Linked DNA regions of Homo sapiens: regions 1 and 3 are each linked to region 2. Evidence: promoter capture Hi-C in 16 types of primary human blood cells and fetal thymus (Javierre and others, 2016). All regions are on one chromosome and are shown on one strand. The core of a region is centred on a gene start or on the middle of the fragment in contact, and the rest is flanking DNA. Distances in the headings are between cores, read along the strand shown. Region 1 holds the start of PIK3R2 (phosphoinositide-3-kinase regulatory subunit 2). Region 2 holds the start of IQCN (IQ motif containing N). Region 3 has its middle 9.0 kb from the start of MPV17L2.

Evidence for each region. The method cuts DNA at HindIII sites, captures the fragments that hold promoters and counts their contacts. A CHiCAGO score of 5 or more calls a contact.
Region 1: a contact is called between the fragment with the promoter of PIK3R2 here and the fragment with the promoter of IQCN in region 2, in 3 of 17 cell types (neutrophils, naive B cells and total B cells). The highest score is 8.9, in neutrophils.
Region 3: a fragment that was not itself captured here is called in contact with the fragment with the promoter of IQCN in region 2 in 9 of 17 cell types (naive B cells, erythroblasts, total B cells and 6 more); the score reaches 7.3 in naive B cells.

Annotation. Positions count from the first base shown.
Region 1 is chr19:18,150,757-18,154,920 of GRCh38, forward strand. PIK3R2 (phosphoinositide-3-kinase regulatory subunit 2) reads left to right here and starts at 2,407. Exons shown (of 16, transcript NM_005027.4): 1 at 2,407-2,538. MAST3 (microtubule associated serine/threonine kinase 3) reads left to right here. Exons shown (of 28, transcript NM_001393504.1): 28 at 1-931. RefSeq lists enhancers at 1,158-1,237, 1,780-2,672, 1,978-2,257 and silencers at 2,368-2,747, 3,058-3,277. The HindIII fragment of the contact is 8,629 bases long and covers 1,152-4,164 here.
Region 2 is chr19:18,272,911-18,276,649 of GRCh38, forward strand. IQCN (IQ motif containing N) reads right to left here and starts at 1,542. Exons shown (of 4, transcript NM_001145304.2): 1 at 1,493-1,542. RefSeq lists enhancers at 1,969-2,263, 2,047-2,166. The HindIII fragment of the contact is 14,383 bases long and covers 1-3,739 here.
Region 3 is chr19:18,182,098-18,186,363 of GRCh38, forward strand. No RefSeq gene overlaps it. Among named protein-coding and RNA genes, the nearest start is that of MPV17L2, 9.0 kb to the right of the region's middle. The HindIII fragment of the contact is 2,344 bases long and covers 79-2,422 here.

The DNA of each region.
Region 1 (4,164 bases), core at 1,157-3,656, 120 kb before region 2:
TGAATAGGTGTTCACCGGATCTGGGCAGAGGGGTCATCCGCTCCCCAGGTGGGCACTGATAAAGGAAGGTACAGGCCTCACCTGGAACTGCCAAGGCAGCCTCCAGAAATGCTCGGCTGTCTCGGGGCACGCTCCAGTATGCCAGTCCTGCGGGATTACGTCCAGCTACTTCCAGAAACACTCAGTGTCCCCTCCCCTCAGGCTCTGCCTTGGCCTGGCCTTGTCCAGTCTACCCTGGACAAGATGCCGTGTGTTTGAGGCCCAGCAGAGTAAGCCCTTGGCCGTGATGTGTCTGAAACACCTGTTAGGGGTTCCCTCCATATGTCAGAGCCTCTCTGGGATGAAGTTCAAGCCAGAAAACCCAGTCGAGGCTCAAGTTTGAATTTCAGCTTCACTGTGTGGCTCTGGGAAAATGGCTTTCCCACTCTGTGCCTCAGTTTCCTTGTGTTTACAAGACTAATCCCATTGACTGTTTATTAAGCACCTACTGTGTGCCAAGCGCTTTTACGTGGCTTCTCCCTCAGCCAGCCTTGAGAAGGCTGGAGGTGGTGTCATCACCTCCATTTTACAGACAAAGCAGCTGAGACCCCAGCGAGGGGCGGAGACCTGTCCCACGATCACCCAGCAGGAGTCGTGGCAGAACGGAGCATCAGCCAGACCCTGTTGTGGGCGTTGTCATCAAGGGAGCTTGAATGGAGGGTCTGGTGTCAGATACAGCCGACTCCAGCCCCAGCTCATCCCCCATGATGCTGTGTGACCCACTGGGCACTCTGGTGAGGGAGCTTTCCAGACATCAACAGCCCACTCTGCTTCCCTTTCTGAGTCCCCTGTCCAGCACTGCCTAGTGTTGGAGGGTAGACCAAGGCTGTGCATGATTCACCCCCTCCTTCCATCCTGGAGCTGGCAGTGAATAAAAGCCCGTATTTACAAAGATGAGCTCCAACGTCTGGATTTGTGAGGGGCTGAGAAAGGAGGAAGGGAAGAGTGGGGAGGGGAGCGGAGTGAAATAGACCCATGGCTCAAAGTCATTGCAAGTGGGTTTTGAGGACTGCATAGCAGTTCGCTGTTGAGATTCTTCCTGATGCCATCGCTGGTACCAGCCTCCTGCTACCCTCTCCCTGCGAGTACTCCATCATAGCCCTGCCTTTAAAAGCTTCCTCCAGACATCTGGGCCCTGAGCTATGTTTTTTATTTTTATGTTTTTGAGACAAGGTCTCGCTCTGTAACCCAGGTTGGAGTACAGTGGCGCAATCACGGCACATTGCAGCCTCGACCTCCTGGGCGCCCTGGGCTATGTTAATAAAATAAATAAGCGGCGGGGCGCGGTGGCTCACGCCTGTAATCCCAGCACTTTGGAAGGCCAAGGCGGGCGGATCTCCTGAGGTCGGGAGTTCCAAACCACCCTGACCAACATGGAGAAACCCCGTCTCTACTAAAAATACAAAATTAGCCGGGCGTGGTGGCGCATGCCTGTAATCCCAGCTGCTCGGGAGGCTGAGGCAGGAGAATCGCTTGAACTCGGGAGGTGGAGGTTGCGGCGAGCCGAGATAGCGCCATTGCACTCCAGCCTGGGCAACAAGAGCGAAACTCCGTCTCAAAAAATAATAACAAAATAAGCAATCGTCGCGTCCTTTCTATCCTGGTCTTAGCTTGCGCTCTGCCATAAAACTCCCTCTAGCCGAACCCGGCCCAGCCCTAGAGCAATCCGTTACTTCCGGGGCGCTCAGCCGGCATGCAAACACTCTTGGCTACAGCCCCATCTCCGAGTGCGTTCGGCTATTTCCGGAAACCGTCGGCATCTAGGCTCAAGTCCGCTAAATTCTAGTGCCCGTAGGGGTCGAGATCGTTGGCTGTTTCCGGACGCTCTGGGTTGCCATGGAAACTCCTTCAACCCTGGCTTTCTCCGACTTCTGCTTTTTGCGGCAGGCCCTTTCCCCACTCTACTGCCCCCTGTTTGCTGAGCTTGAGAACGCCTCATTTGTCCCCTGGAACCATCTATGCTTCAGTAATTCCCATAAGCTGGCGGTCGCCTCTGGGTCTAAACTCCCAAGGCCTCCATTGGGCACTGAGCACATTCGGTTATTTCCAGAAACGCTCCGCGGTCTTGGGGATCAGCCTCAGTTGTGCCAGTGCGGCCGTAGAGAGTGTTCGGCCATTTCCGAAAGCGCTCGGGCGTCTCTAAGCCCAGCCGAGCCCAGTCTCGGATCCCTCGCCGACCCGATTGCACTCGGCTACCTCTGGAAACGCTCGGCTGTCTCGGGGGCACCCTCTAGTCCACCAGTCCCGCGGGATTACGTTCGGCTACTTCCGGAAACACTCGGGTGCCCCCTTACCTCAGGCTCCGCCTCGGCCTCGGTTCATCCGCCCGGCTCGAATGCGCTCGGGCATTTCCGCCGGGGGCGGGCCAGGCCGCTCGGAACCGTGGCGGCGGCGGAGGCGGGGATCCCGCGGCTGCGGCGACGGTGGCCGCGGTGGAGCCACGGGGCGGGCTTGGCTTGGTGTGACGGCGGCTGCGGCGGCGGTGGCGGCCGCGACCAGGTGAGTCCTGACTGGCCCTCGTGGCGGGGGCGGCTGGGAGTGTGCTTAAATGCGGGGCGCCCGGGGGCAGTGCCGGGCCCCGGTGGAAGCCAGAACGCAAGCGCCAGGCTGCGTCGGGCCCCGCGGGAACTGGGGGGGCCGCAGGCAAGGGGGGGCCTCGGGCTCGGCTCCGCAGCGGTGCAGCCTCCTTGGGACGGTCGGGGCAGAATGGGGAGAGACTCCCCGCGTCCAAGATACCGGACTGGAGCCGAGGCCCCAAATGAAGGGAGGCCCTGCCTGGAATGGGGCTTCGAATAGTACCGAGGGGCGCCCAGGCATTGTGCGGGGCAGAATGGGGTGCGGGAGGGCCGGGGGTCGAACCCACTTCCGGTCCCCTAGCCGGGTGGCCGGGTCCACGCAGACCCAAGTGCGCGTCTGTGTGAGCGCTCAGGCCCTGCCTTCACCCGCGGAGCCCCCAGCCCTGCCTGCCCCGCCCCTCCCGCCTCCCGGATTCGGGGAGCGCTGCTCCCGGGGCGCGCACACCGGGGCGTGGGGGCGGGCTGGCAGGCAGATCCAGGCGGTTTTCTGGGCATCCCCTCTCGGGGCCTCAGTTTCCCCACCTGTAGAATGAGGGTAACAGAGGCCTAGGAATGGGTAAATTGGGCACCCGAGAATGTGGCGCCCCTCCGCCCTGCTCGGACACCTCTTGGGGTTCCCCGTGACTGAAGGATGCTCAGAGCCTCCACCTGACACTCGGGCCTCTTGGTGGATAGCACCTATCCTTATAGCCACCCTGAATCCTTGACAAGCAACTTAACCCACTGCCAAGGCTTTGCATGTGCCGTTCCGTCTGCCTGTCGCGCCTTCCTATCCGCTGTGATGATCCATTCTCTAGAACAGCACGTCCATCCCCCGACCCTAGCCCTGTCCATCACAGGGCGTCTGAACCCGCAGGGCTAGGCTGGGAATGTGTGCCTATCTCCGCCTCCCCAGGCTGGGACTCCTGGGGAATAATCAATGCCCTGCTGCCGGCAGCCTCCCCTCCTCCTCAGCTGCAGTACCCCCACCTTCTCCTGGCTCCCTGTCCCTGCCTGGGGCTAAGGTTCCTTCTAAGCACCTCCCCATCTGCATTTTGTGCCTACTCTGGGCCCCAGGCTGGAGCTACCTGCCAGCCCACTCACTCCTCCTCTGCAGAGACTGGAGGTCCATTTGCTTGGACTCACCTCGAGGCCTTTGCTTGTGTAGAGGCCTCTTCCTGGACTTTGTTCCCTACCTCTTAGTTCAGCTGGCCTGACCCCTCTATGGAGCTCCCAAAGCACCCGGAGTGGCCTCCATTGCGTCCTCCCTGCCCTAGGTATCTGGCCACCTGGCTGCTGCCCCCTCATGTCCAACTGGGCCAAGTCGGCAGATCTAGGTGTAAGTCCTGGCTTCCTCCTGGCCTACTGCACGGCCCTAGATACCTCCCTGCTCTGAGCCTCAGTTTCCCCATCTGTAACAGGGGTGATGAAAAGCCTGTTTACTGGCCGGGCGCGGTGGCTCACACCTGTAATCCCAACACTTTGGAAGGCAGAGGCAGGAGGACTGCTTCAGCCCAGGAGTTTGCGACCAACCTGGGCAACATAGCAAGACCCCACCTCTATTGGAAAA
Region 2 (3,739 bases), core at 292-2,791:
AGCATTGTGCTCACTTTAAACAAGACATAACGAAAGAAATTCCTTTGTTTATCACATATTGAAAGGGTCCATTCGGAGACAAGAGGCAATGCATGGATAATTGACACACATATATTTATTATTTTTATTTTTTTGAGATGGACGGAATCTTGCTCTGTTGCCCAGGCTGAAGTGCAGTGGCACGATCTTGGCTCACTGCAACCTCCGCCTCCCAGGTTCAAAGTGATTCTCCTGTCTCAGCCTCCCGAGTAGCTGGGATTACAGGCACTTGCCACCACACTTGGCTAACTTTTGTATTTTTAGTAGAGTTGGGGTTTCGCCATGTTGGCCAGACTGGTCTCGAACCCCTGACCTCAAGTGATCCGCCCGCCTCGGCCTCCCAAAGTGCTGGGATTACAGGCATGAGTCACCATGCCCGGCCTAATTATTATTATTATTCTCTTTGAGACGGAATTTCACTTTTGTTGCCCAGGCTGGAGTGCAATGGCGCCATCTTGGCTCACTGCAACCTCTGCCTCCAGGTTCAAGCGATTCTCCTGCCTCAGCCTCCCAAATAGCTAGGATTACAGGCATGCGCCACCACACCTAATTTCGTATTTTTAGTGGAAATGGGGTTTCTCCATGTTGGTCAGGCTGGTCTTGAACTCCTGATCACAGGTGATCTGCCCGCCTTGGCTTCCCAAAGTGCTGGCGTTACAGGCGTGAGCCACCTTGCCCGGCCTAATTTTTGAATTTTTAGTAGAGATGGGGTTTGACCATATGGGTCAGGCTGGTCTCGAACTCCTGAGGCAGGAAAATCACTTGAACCCGGGAGACAGCAGCTCTGGGAGCTGAATGGGCCCATTCCAGGGGCTGAGGTTTCATCAACCAAACGGTGCAGCTCTTTAGAGGAACTCAACCAGAAGGGGTGAGAAACGGGATTGTGGGGGATGAGAAGAAGGAACAGGGGCCCCCTGGACACAGAAGCCAAGCGACTGGCTCGGTAATTTTGAGTAAACCCCTCTGAGCCTCAATTTCCCTATCTGTCACAAGACATAAGATCACCATCCTCAGGTTGCCAAAGAGACACAACAGGCTCAGCTGGGCGCAGTGGCTCCTGCCCGTAATCCAAGCACTTTGGGGGACCAAGGTGGGAGGATCGCTGCAGCCCAAGAGTTTGAAAACAGCCTGGGCAACATGTCTCTATTTATTTAAAAAAATAATAATAAAGAGACATAACAGGCTCTCCATGATGTCCCCCATCACAGGTGAACAAATCCACCATCAAGGCTTTAGAGGTCCCTAGAGCCCCTGCTGTGAGGGGCCAAGGAGCTGACCCATCATTTGCAGTCACCCAGAAGGCCCAGAAGGGCTCTAAAGGCACTGGGGGCCAGAGGAGAACGACAGGGTCCCCCACGAACCCTCGCAAACAAGTCCTCCACCAGCCCCACTCACCCGCCCCTGAAGCCACCAGCCCCACTCACCCGCCCCCAAAGCCACCAGCCCCACTCACCTGCCCCTGAAGCTAAACCTAGCAGTCTGAACGGCCAGTCTTGGAGCCCTGGTGCCGCAGCAGCTTTGTGACTCAAAGCCAAGTTCTGGCCAATCCCTGGCAGCTCTTAGGGGGTGGGGATTCTAGAAGGCACAGCCAGAGGTTGGGGAACAGGATGCAGGGCAGGGCCAAAGGTCATGGTGGTTGCTACCTACACCGGCTCATCCTGAGTACAAAGGGTTCTCAGCACAGAGGGAACCCCAAATCTCCCCCTCCATGTACCTAGAGGCAGTTTCAGTCTTTCATCCCACGGGCATTTTCTGAGCACCTACTATATGCTGGAATTTGCCCCATGTCTGGGGATACAAACAACTCAAAGAATTTGAGGCTGTAAAATGGCTAGATGGGAAGGGACCAAAAAGGGGGTGCAACGGGCCAGTCAGGGTTCTCACTGATGTCTTGGGTGTGGCTCTGAGACTGCGGGCTCCTTGGGGTGGGGCCGGACTTGATCTCTTGGGATCCCCACTGGGCCCGGCAAAAGTGGGTACTGACCCTGAGCCGCAGCGCTATAAGGGGAAGTCAGGCTGCTGTCCTGGATCACCTCCTGGGGCTGGGCTGGGGCCCAGCATGAGTCACCGCTGGCTGGGCCAAGGCTGACACGCACCTTGGACTCAGTGCAGCTGGCTCCAGCCAAAGCCAGCCTGGCCCAGAAGCCTCTGCCTGGCTTCCTTGGGGAGCCGCTGGGGGTTGCCGGGACAAGAACCAGCAGGGGTGCCTGACCTCCCTCTGCAGCGATCACCCCCTCCAAAACCTTCCCTATACTGTGGGTGTGACTTTGGACAAAATCAGGGACATGGCAGATGGCAGTTGGGTGGGGTTTATATCCTTTGTCTGTTTTTTGAGATTGAGTCTCGCTCTGTTGCCCAGGCTGGAGTGCAGTGCTACGATCTCAGCTCACTGCAACCTCCACCTCCCCGGGTTCAAGCGATTCTCGTGCCTCAGCCTCCTGAGTAGCTGGGACTACAGGTGCATGCTATGACGCCCAGCTGATTTATGTAGTTTTAGTAGAGATAGGATTTCACCATGTTGGCCAGGCTGGTCTCAAACTCCTGACCACAAGTGATCCGCCTGCTGCGGCCTCCCAAAGTGCTGGGATTACAGGCATGAGCCACTGCACCCAGCTCATCCTTTGGATGTTTCATCAGAACAGGTCCCTTCTGTGCTGTCAACGAGCTAAACACAAACTGGGAGTTCTCAGGGCAATTGGAGACCGTAGGAGCCCAGTAAGGTGCTGGCCTAGCCTGAGGGTTACTAGGGACAGGCTTCCGAGGACTGTGCAGCTGAGGCTGGGAGGTGGCGCTCAGCTGCATGACTGGGGGAAGAGTAGCTGGCACAGAACTACAGCTGCAGCCGTGCAAAGACCCTGAGGCCAGGAAGGCAGGATATTGGGAATTTGGGTGGAGAGGCTCCTGAAAGGAGACACTGGCCAGCCCAGGGACTGGTGCAGTCAGGACTTTTTCCAAAAAGGTTTCAAGTAAGGAGTCAGATCTGTGATTTAGAAAAAGCCCTTCACATCACAGCTCATGCCTGCTTGACTCCCCCATCAGACTGGAGGGCTGGCCTCAACTAGGTGTCAATAAATGCTGGGGACGCTGGGCGCGATGGTTCATGCCTATAATCCCAGCACTTTGGGAGGCCAAGGCGGGCAGATCGATTGAGCCCAGGAGTTTGAGACCAGCCTGACCAATATGGCAAAACCTCGTCTCTACTAATAATACAAAAATTAGTCAGGCATGATGGCAAATGCCTGTAATCCCAGCTACTTTGGTGGCTGAGGCAGGAGAGTCACTTGAACCCAGGAGGTGGAGGCTACAGTGAGCCAAGATTGCACCACTGCACTCCAGCCTGAATGAGAGACCCTGACTCAAAAAAAAAAAAAAAAAAAAAAAAAAAAAAGAGGCCGAGTACAGTGGCTCAATACCTGTAGTCCCAGCATTTTGGGAGACCGAGGTTGGAGGATCACTTGAACACAGGAGTTCAAAACCAGCCTGGGCAACATAGATCCCATCTCTACAAAAAAATTATTTAAAAATTAGTAGGGCGGCTGGGCGTGGTGGCTCACGCCTGTAATCCCAGCACTTTGGGAGGCCAAGGCTGGCGGATCATGAGGTCAGGTGATCGAGATCAACCTGGCTAACACGGTGAAAGCCCATCTCTATTAAAAACACAAAAAAATTAGCCAGGCATGGTGGCAGGCGCCTGTAGTCC
Region 3 (4,266 bases), core at 1-2,500, 91 kb before region 2:
ATTTACAAACAGATTTTGAAAACAATATTTAAGCAGGCATACTATAAAACATAATTATTGTTGAAAAGCTTATTTACAAGCTTTCATCTCACTTTCATTTAACTTACTTGTGTTCAACAATTATGCTTAATTACTCATGAACATTTCATAAAACATTGAAAAAATAATCATCATCTTAAGTTACTTTTCTTGTTGACAAATCAAGTATCAAAAATCAAAGAAGCAAAGAACCTAAAAAAATAAATATATGGGACGCAGCACCATGGCTCACACCTGTAATCCCAGCACTTTGGGAGGCCACGGTGGGAGGATCACTGGAGACCAGGAGTTCAAGACCAGCCTGGCCAACACAGTGAGATCCCATCTCTATAAAAAATACAAAAATTGGCCAGGCGTGGTGGCTCGTGCCTGTAATCCCAGCACTTTGGGAGGCTGAGGCGGGCAGATCACCTGAGGTCGGGAGTTCAAGACCAGCCTGACCAACATGGAGAAACCCCATCTCCATTAAAAATACATTAGCTGGGTGTGGTGGTGGTAGCTCTAATCCCAGCTACTCGGGAGGCTGAGGCAGCAGAATCGCTTGAACCTGGGAGGCAGAGGTTGCGGTTAGCCGAAATCACACCATTGCACTTGAGCCTGGGCAACAAGAGCAAAACTCAATCTCAAAAAAAAAAAAAAATAGCCAGGCCTGGTGGCTCACACCTGTAATCCTAGCTACTCGGGAGGCTGAGGCATGAGAATCACTTGAACCTGGGAGGCTGCAGTGAGCTGAGATCATGCCACTGCACTCCAGCCTGGGCGACAGAGCAAGACCTTATCTCAAAAAATAACCATCCAAGGAACCAAAAAAAATTAAAAACCCACATATGGGTCTCTCCTTTACTTTTTAAAATTAATTTTATTGTCAGGCTTGACATCCATTAAGCAAATCACCTTTTTTTTTTTTTTTTTCAGACAGGGTCTCACTCTGTCACCCAGACTGGAGTGCAGTGAGGTGACATCACAGCTCACTGCAACCTCTGCCTCCAGGGCTCAAGCGATCCTCCCACCCCAGCCTCCCGAGTGTCTGGAACTACAGGCACAAGCCACAACACTCAGCTAATTTTCTATATTTTTAGTAGAGACAGCTTTTCACTATGTTACCCAGGCTGGTCTCAAACTCCTGGACTCAAGCAATCCGCCTGCCTTGGCCTCCCAGAGTGCTGGGATTGCAGGCATGAGCCACCGTGCCCACCCTCAATTCACTTCGTAAAAATTTTTTTATTTATTTTTTGAGACAGGGTCTTGTTCTGTCACCCAGGCTGGAGTGCAGTAATGTGATCACAGCTCACTGCAACCTCCATTTCCAGGGCTCAGGCGATCCTCCCTGCTCAGCCTCCCGAATAGCTGGGACAACAGGTGCGAGCCACGAGCCAGCATGCGTGGTAAATTTTTGTATTTTTTTTTTTTTTTTTTGCAGAGATGGGGTTTTGCCATGTTGCCCAGGCTGTTCTTGAACTCCTGGCTTCAAATGACCTACCTCCATCAGCCTCCCAAAGTGCTGGGATGGATGACAGATCTGAGCCACCACCTGGCCAAGCAATTCACTTTTATTGCATGTATTGTTCTTAGGTTTATTTTATAGTTTTACAGTTTACACTTTTATAATCTTCAACATCTAAAGATAACATAAGCCTGTTTGACTAGTCTTAATTTACATAAGCAAATGTGGTTTTCTAAAGTCAATGAAATAGAGCTCCTTTACAAGTTAATCTTTAGGAATTCCATCAAGAGGGAGAAAGTGTTACATACCTATAACATATATATATATAAACATAAATAGGTGCAGTCAGAAATCTTATAGCTTTCATTTTAAAATTATAGCTGTGAGACAGGTGTGATAATACAAAACTCACTAGTTTTTAAAAAAATGGTGGAGCCGGGCACAGTGGCTCACGCCTGTAATCCTAGCACTTTGAGAGGCCGAGGCAGGCAGATCATTTGAGGCCAGGGAGTTCAAGACCAGCCTGGGCAACATGGAGAAGCCCCATCTCTACTAAAAATACAAAAATTAGCCAGGCGCAGTGACTCACGCCCATAATCCCAGTACTTTGGGAGGCCGAAGTGGGCTGATCACCTCAGGTTGGGAGTTCAAGACCAGCCTGACCAACATGGAGAAACCCTGTCGCTACCAAAAATACAAAATTGGCCAGGTGTGGTGGCACATGCCTGTAGTCCCAGCTACTCGGGAGGCTGAGGCAGGAGAATCACTTGAACCCAGGAGACAGAGGTTGCAGTGAGCTGAGATCGTGCCTCTGCACTCCAGTCTGGGTGACAGAGCCAGACTCAATCTCAAAAAATATAAATAAATAAATAAGTGAGATCCAATTTGCATCTGCAGAGGCAGATGAAATGAGTTAAGATTACCTACTCAGATCATGAAAGCTTTGTGCTAACATTTGTAAAGACTGTTAAAATTTTTCACTTGCCAGTTGGTTTCCAAATTGCCCTCTGAGAACACAGTTCTGATCCATTGCAGGGGAGCCCCAAATTTTGGGCTTAGCCCAGGAGGGCTCTTGGCTTCTTCTAGGAAAGTATCCAAGGGTGACCTGGTGGTGTTATACAGCACCTTTTTTTTTTTCCCTGAAAGAGTCTTGCTCTGTTGCCCAGCCTGGAATGCAGTGATGTGATCACAGCTCACTGCAGTCTCCAAATCCTGGGCTCTAGAATCCCCTTTGCCTCAAACTTCTGAGTAGCTGGGACTACAGGCATGCACCACCTATCCGAGCTAATTTTTTAAATTTTTGTGGAGATGGGGTCTTGCTATGTTCCCCAGGCTGGTCTCAAACTCCTGAGCTCAAGTGATCCTCCTGCTTCAGCCTCCCAAAGTGCTGGGATCACAGGTGTGAGCCATAATCCCAGCCTGATAAGAATTCGTCCTTTTCTTTTTTTTTTTTGAGACGGAGTCTGGCTCTGTTGCCCAGGCTGGAGTGCAGTGGTACTTTCTCGGCTCACTGCAACCTCCATTTCCCGGGTTCAAGCGGTTCTTCTGCCTCAGCCTCCCGATTAGCTGGGATTACAGGTGCCTGCCACTACGCCTGGATAATTTTTTTGTATTTTTAGTAGAGACGGGGTTTCACCATGTTGGCCAGGCTGGTCTTGAACTCCTGACCTCAGGTGATCCACCCACCTCGGCCTCCCAAAGTGCTGGGATTACTGGTGTGAGTCACCGTGCCAGCCTTTTTTTTTTTTTTTTTTTTTTTCTGAGACAAAGTCTCACTCTGTTGCCCAGGCTGGAATTCAGTGGTGCTATCTCAGCTCACTGAAACCCCAGCTTCCCAGGTTTCAGTGATTCTCCTGCCTCAGACTCCCGAGTAACTGGGACTACAGGCACACACCACCACACTCAGCTAATTTTGCTATTTTTTGGTAGAGATGGGGTTTCACCGTGTTGGCCAGACTGGTCTTGATCTCCTGACCTCAAGTAATCCACCCACCTCAGCCTCTCAAAAAGCTGGGATTACAGGCATGAGCCACCGCGTCCGGCTGAATTCTTACTTTGCATTGGCTTGTCAGGTCCCAGCATTTCTCCCCTGCAGACCCCAGAGGGAGCAGATATTCCCAGCCAATTGTAGCCCATCCTCATCACCAGAAACTAGCAGGGCTAGAGCTTTCCTCCTCTCTCTGGTGTCTGGCTCAGACTGACAGACAGATTAACAAAACAATAGCACACAAAGCTTATTCATTGTAGATGGGAGCCCTCACGAGAAAAATGGAGACCGAAAAAAGTAACTAGACCTAAGTGTTTGTTTTGAGACAGGGTCTTGCTGTGTCATCCAGACTGGAGTGCAGTAGCGGGATCACAGCTCACTGAAGCCTTGACCTCTCAGGCCCAAGCAATCCTCCTGTCTCAGCCTCCCAAGTAGTTGGGACTAGAGTTGCACACCACCACACCTGGCTAATTTTTTAAAAATTTTGGCCGGGCACGGTAGCTCATGCCTGTAATCCCAGTACTTTGTGAGGCAGAGGCTGGGGGATCACCTGAGGTCAGGAGTTCAAGACCAGCCTGGCCAACATGATAAAACCCGTCTCTAGTAAAAATACAAAAATTAGCCAGGCGTGGTGGCGGGCGCCCATAATCCTAGCTACTTGGGAGGCTGAGGCAGGAGAATCACTTGAACCTGGGTGGCGGAGGTTGCAGTGAGCTGAGATCGCGCCACTGCACTCCAGCCTGGGCAACAGAGTGAGACTCCTTCTCAAAAATAAAGAAAAAATAAAAAGATAGAT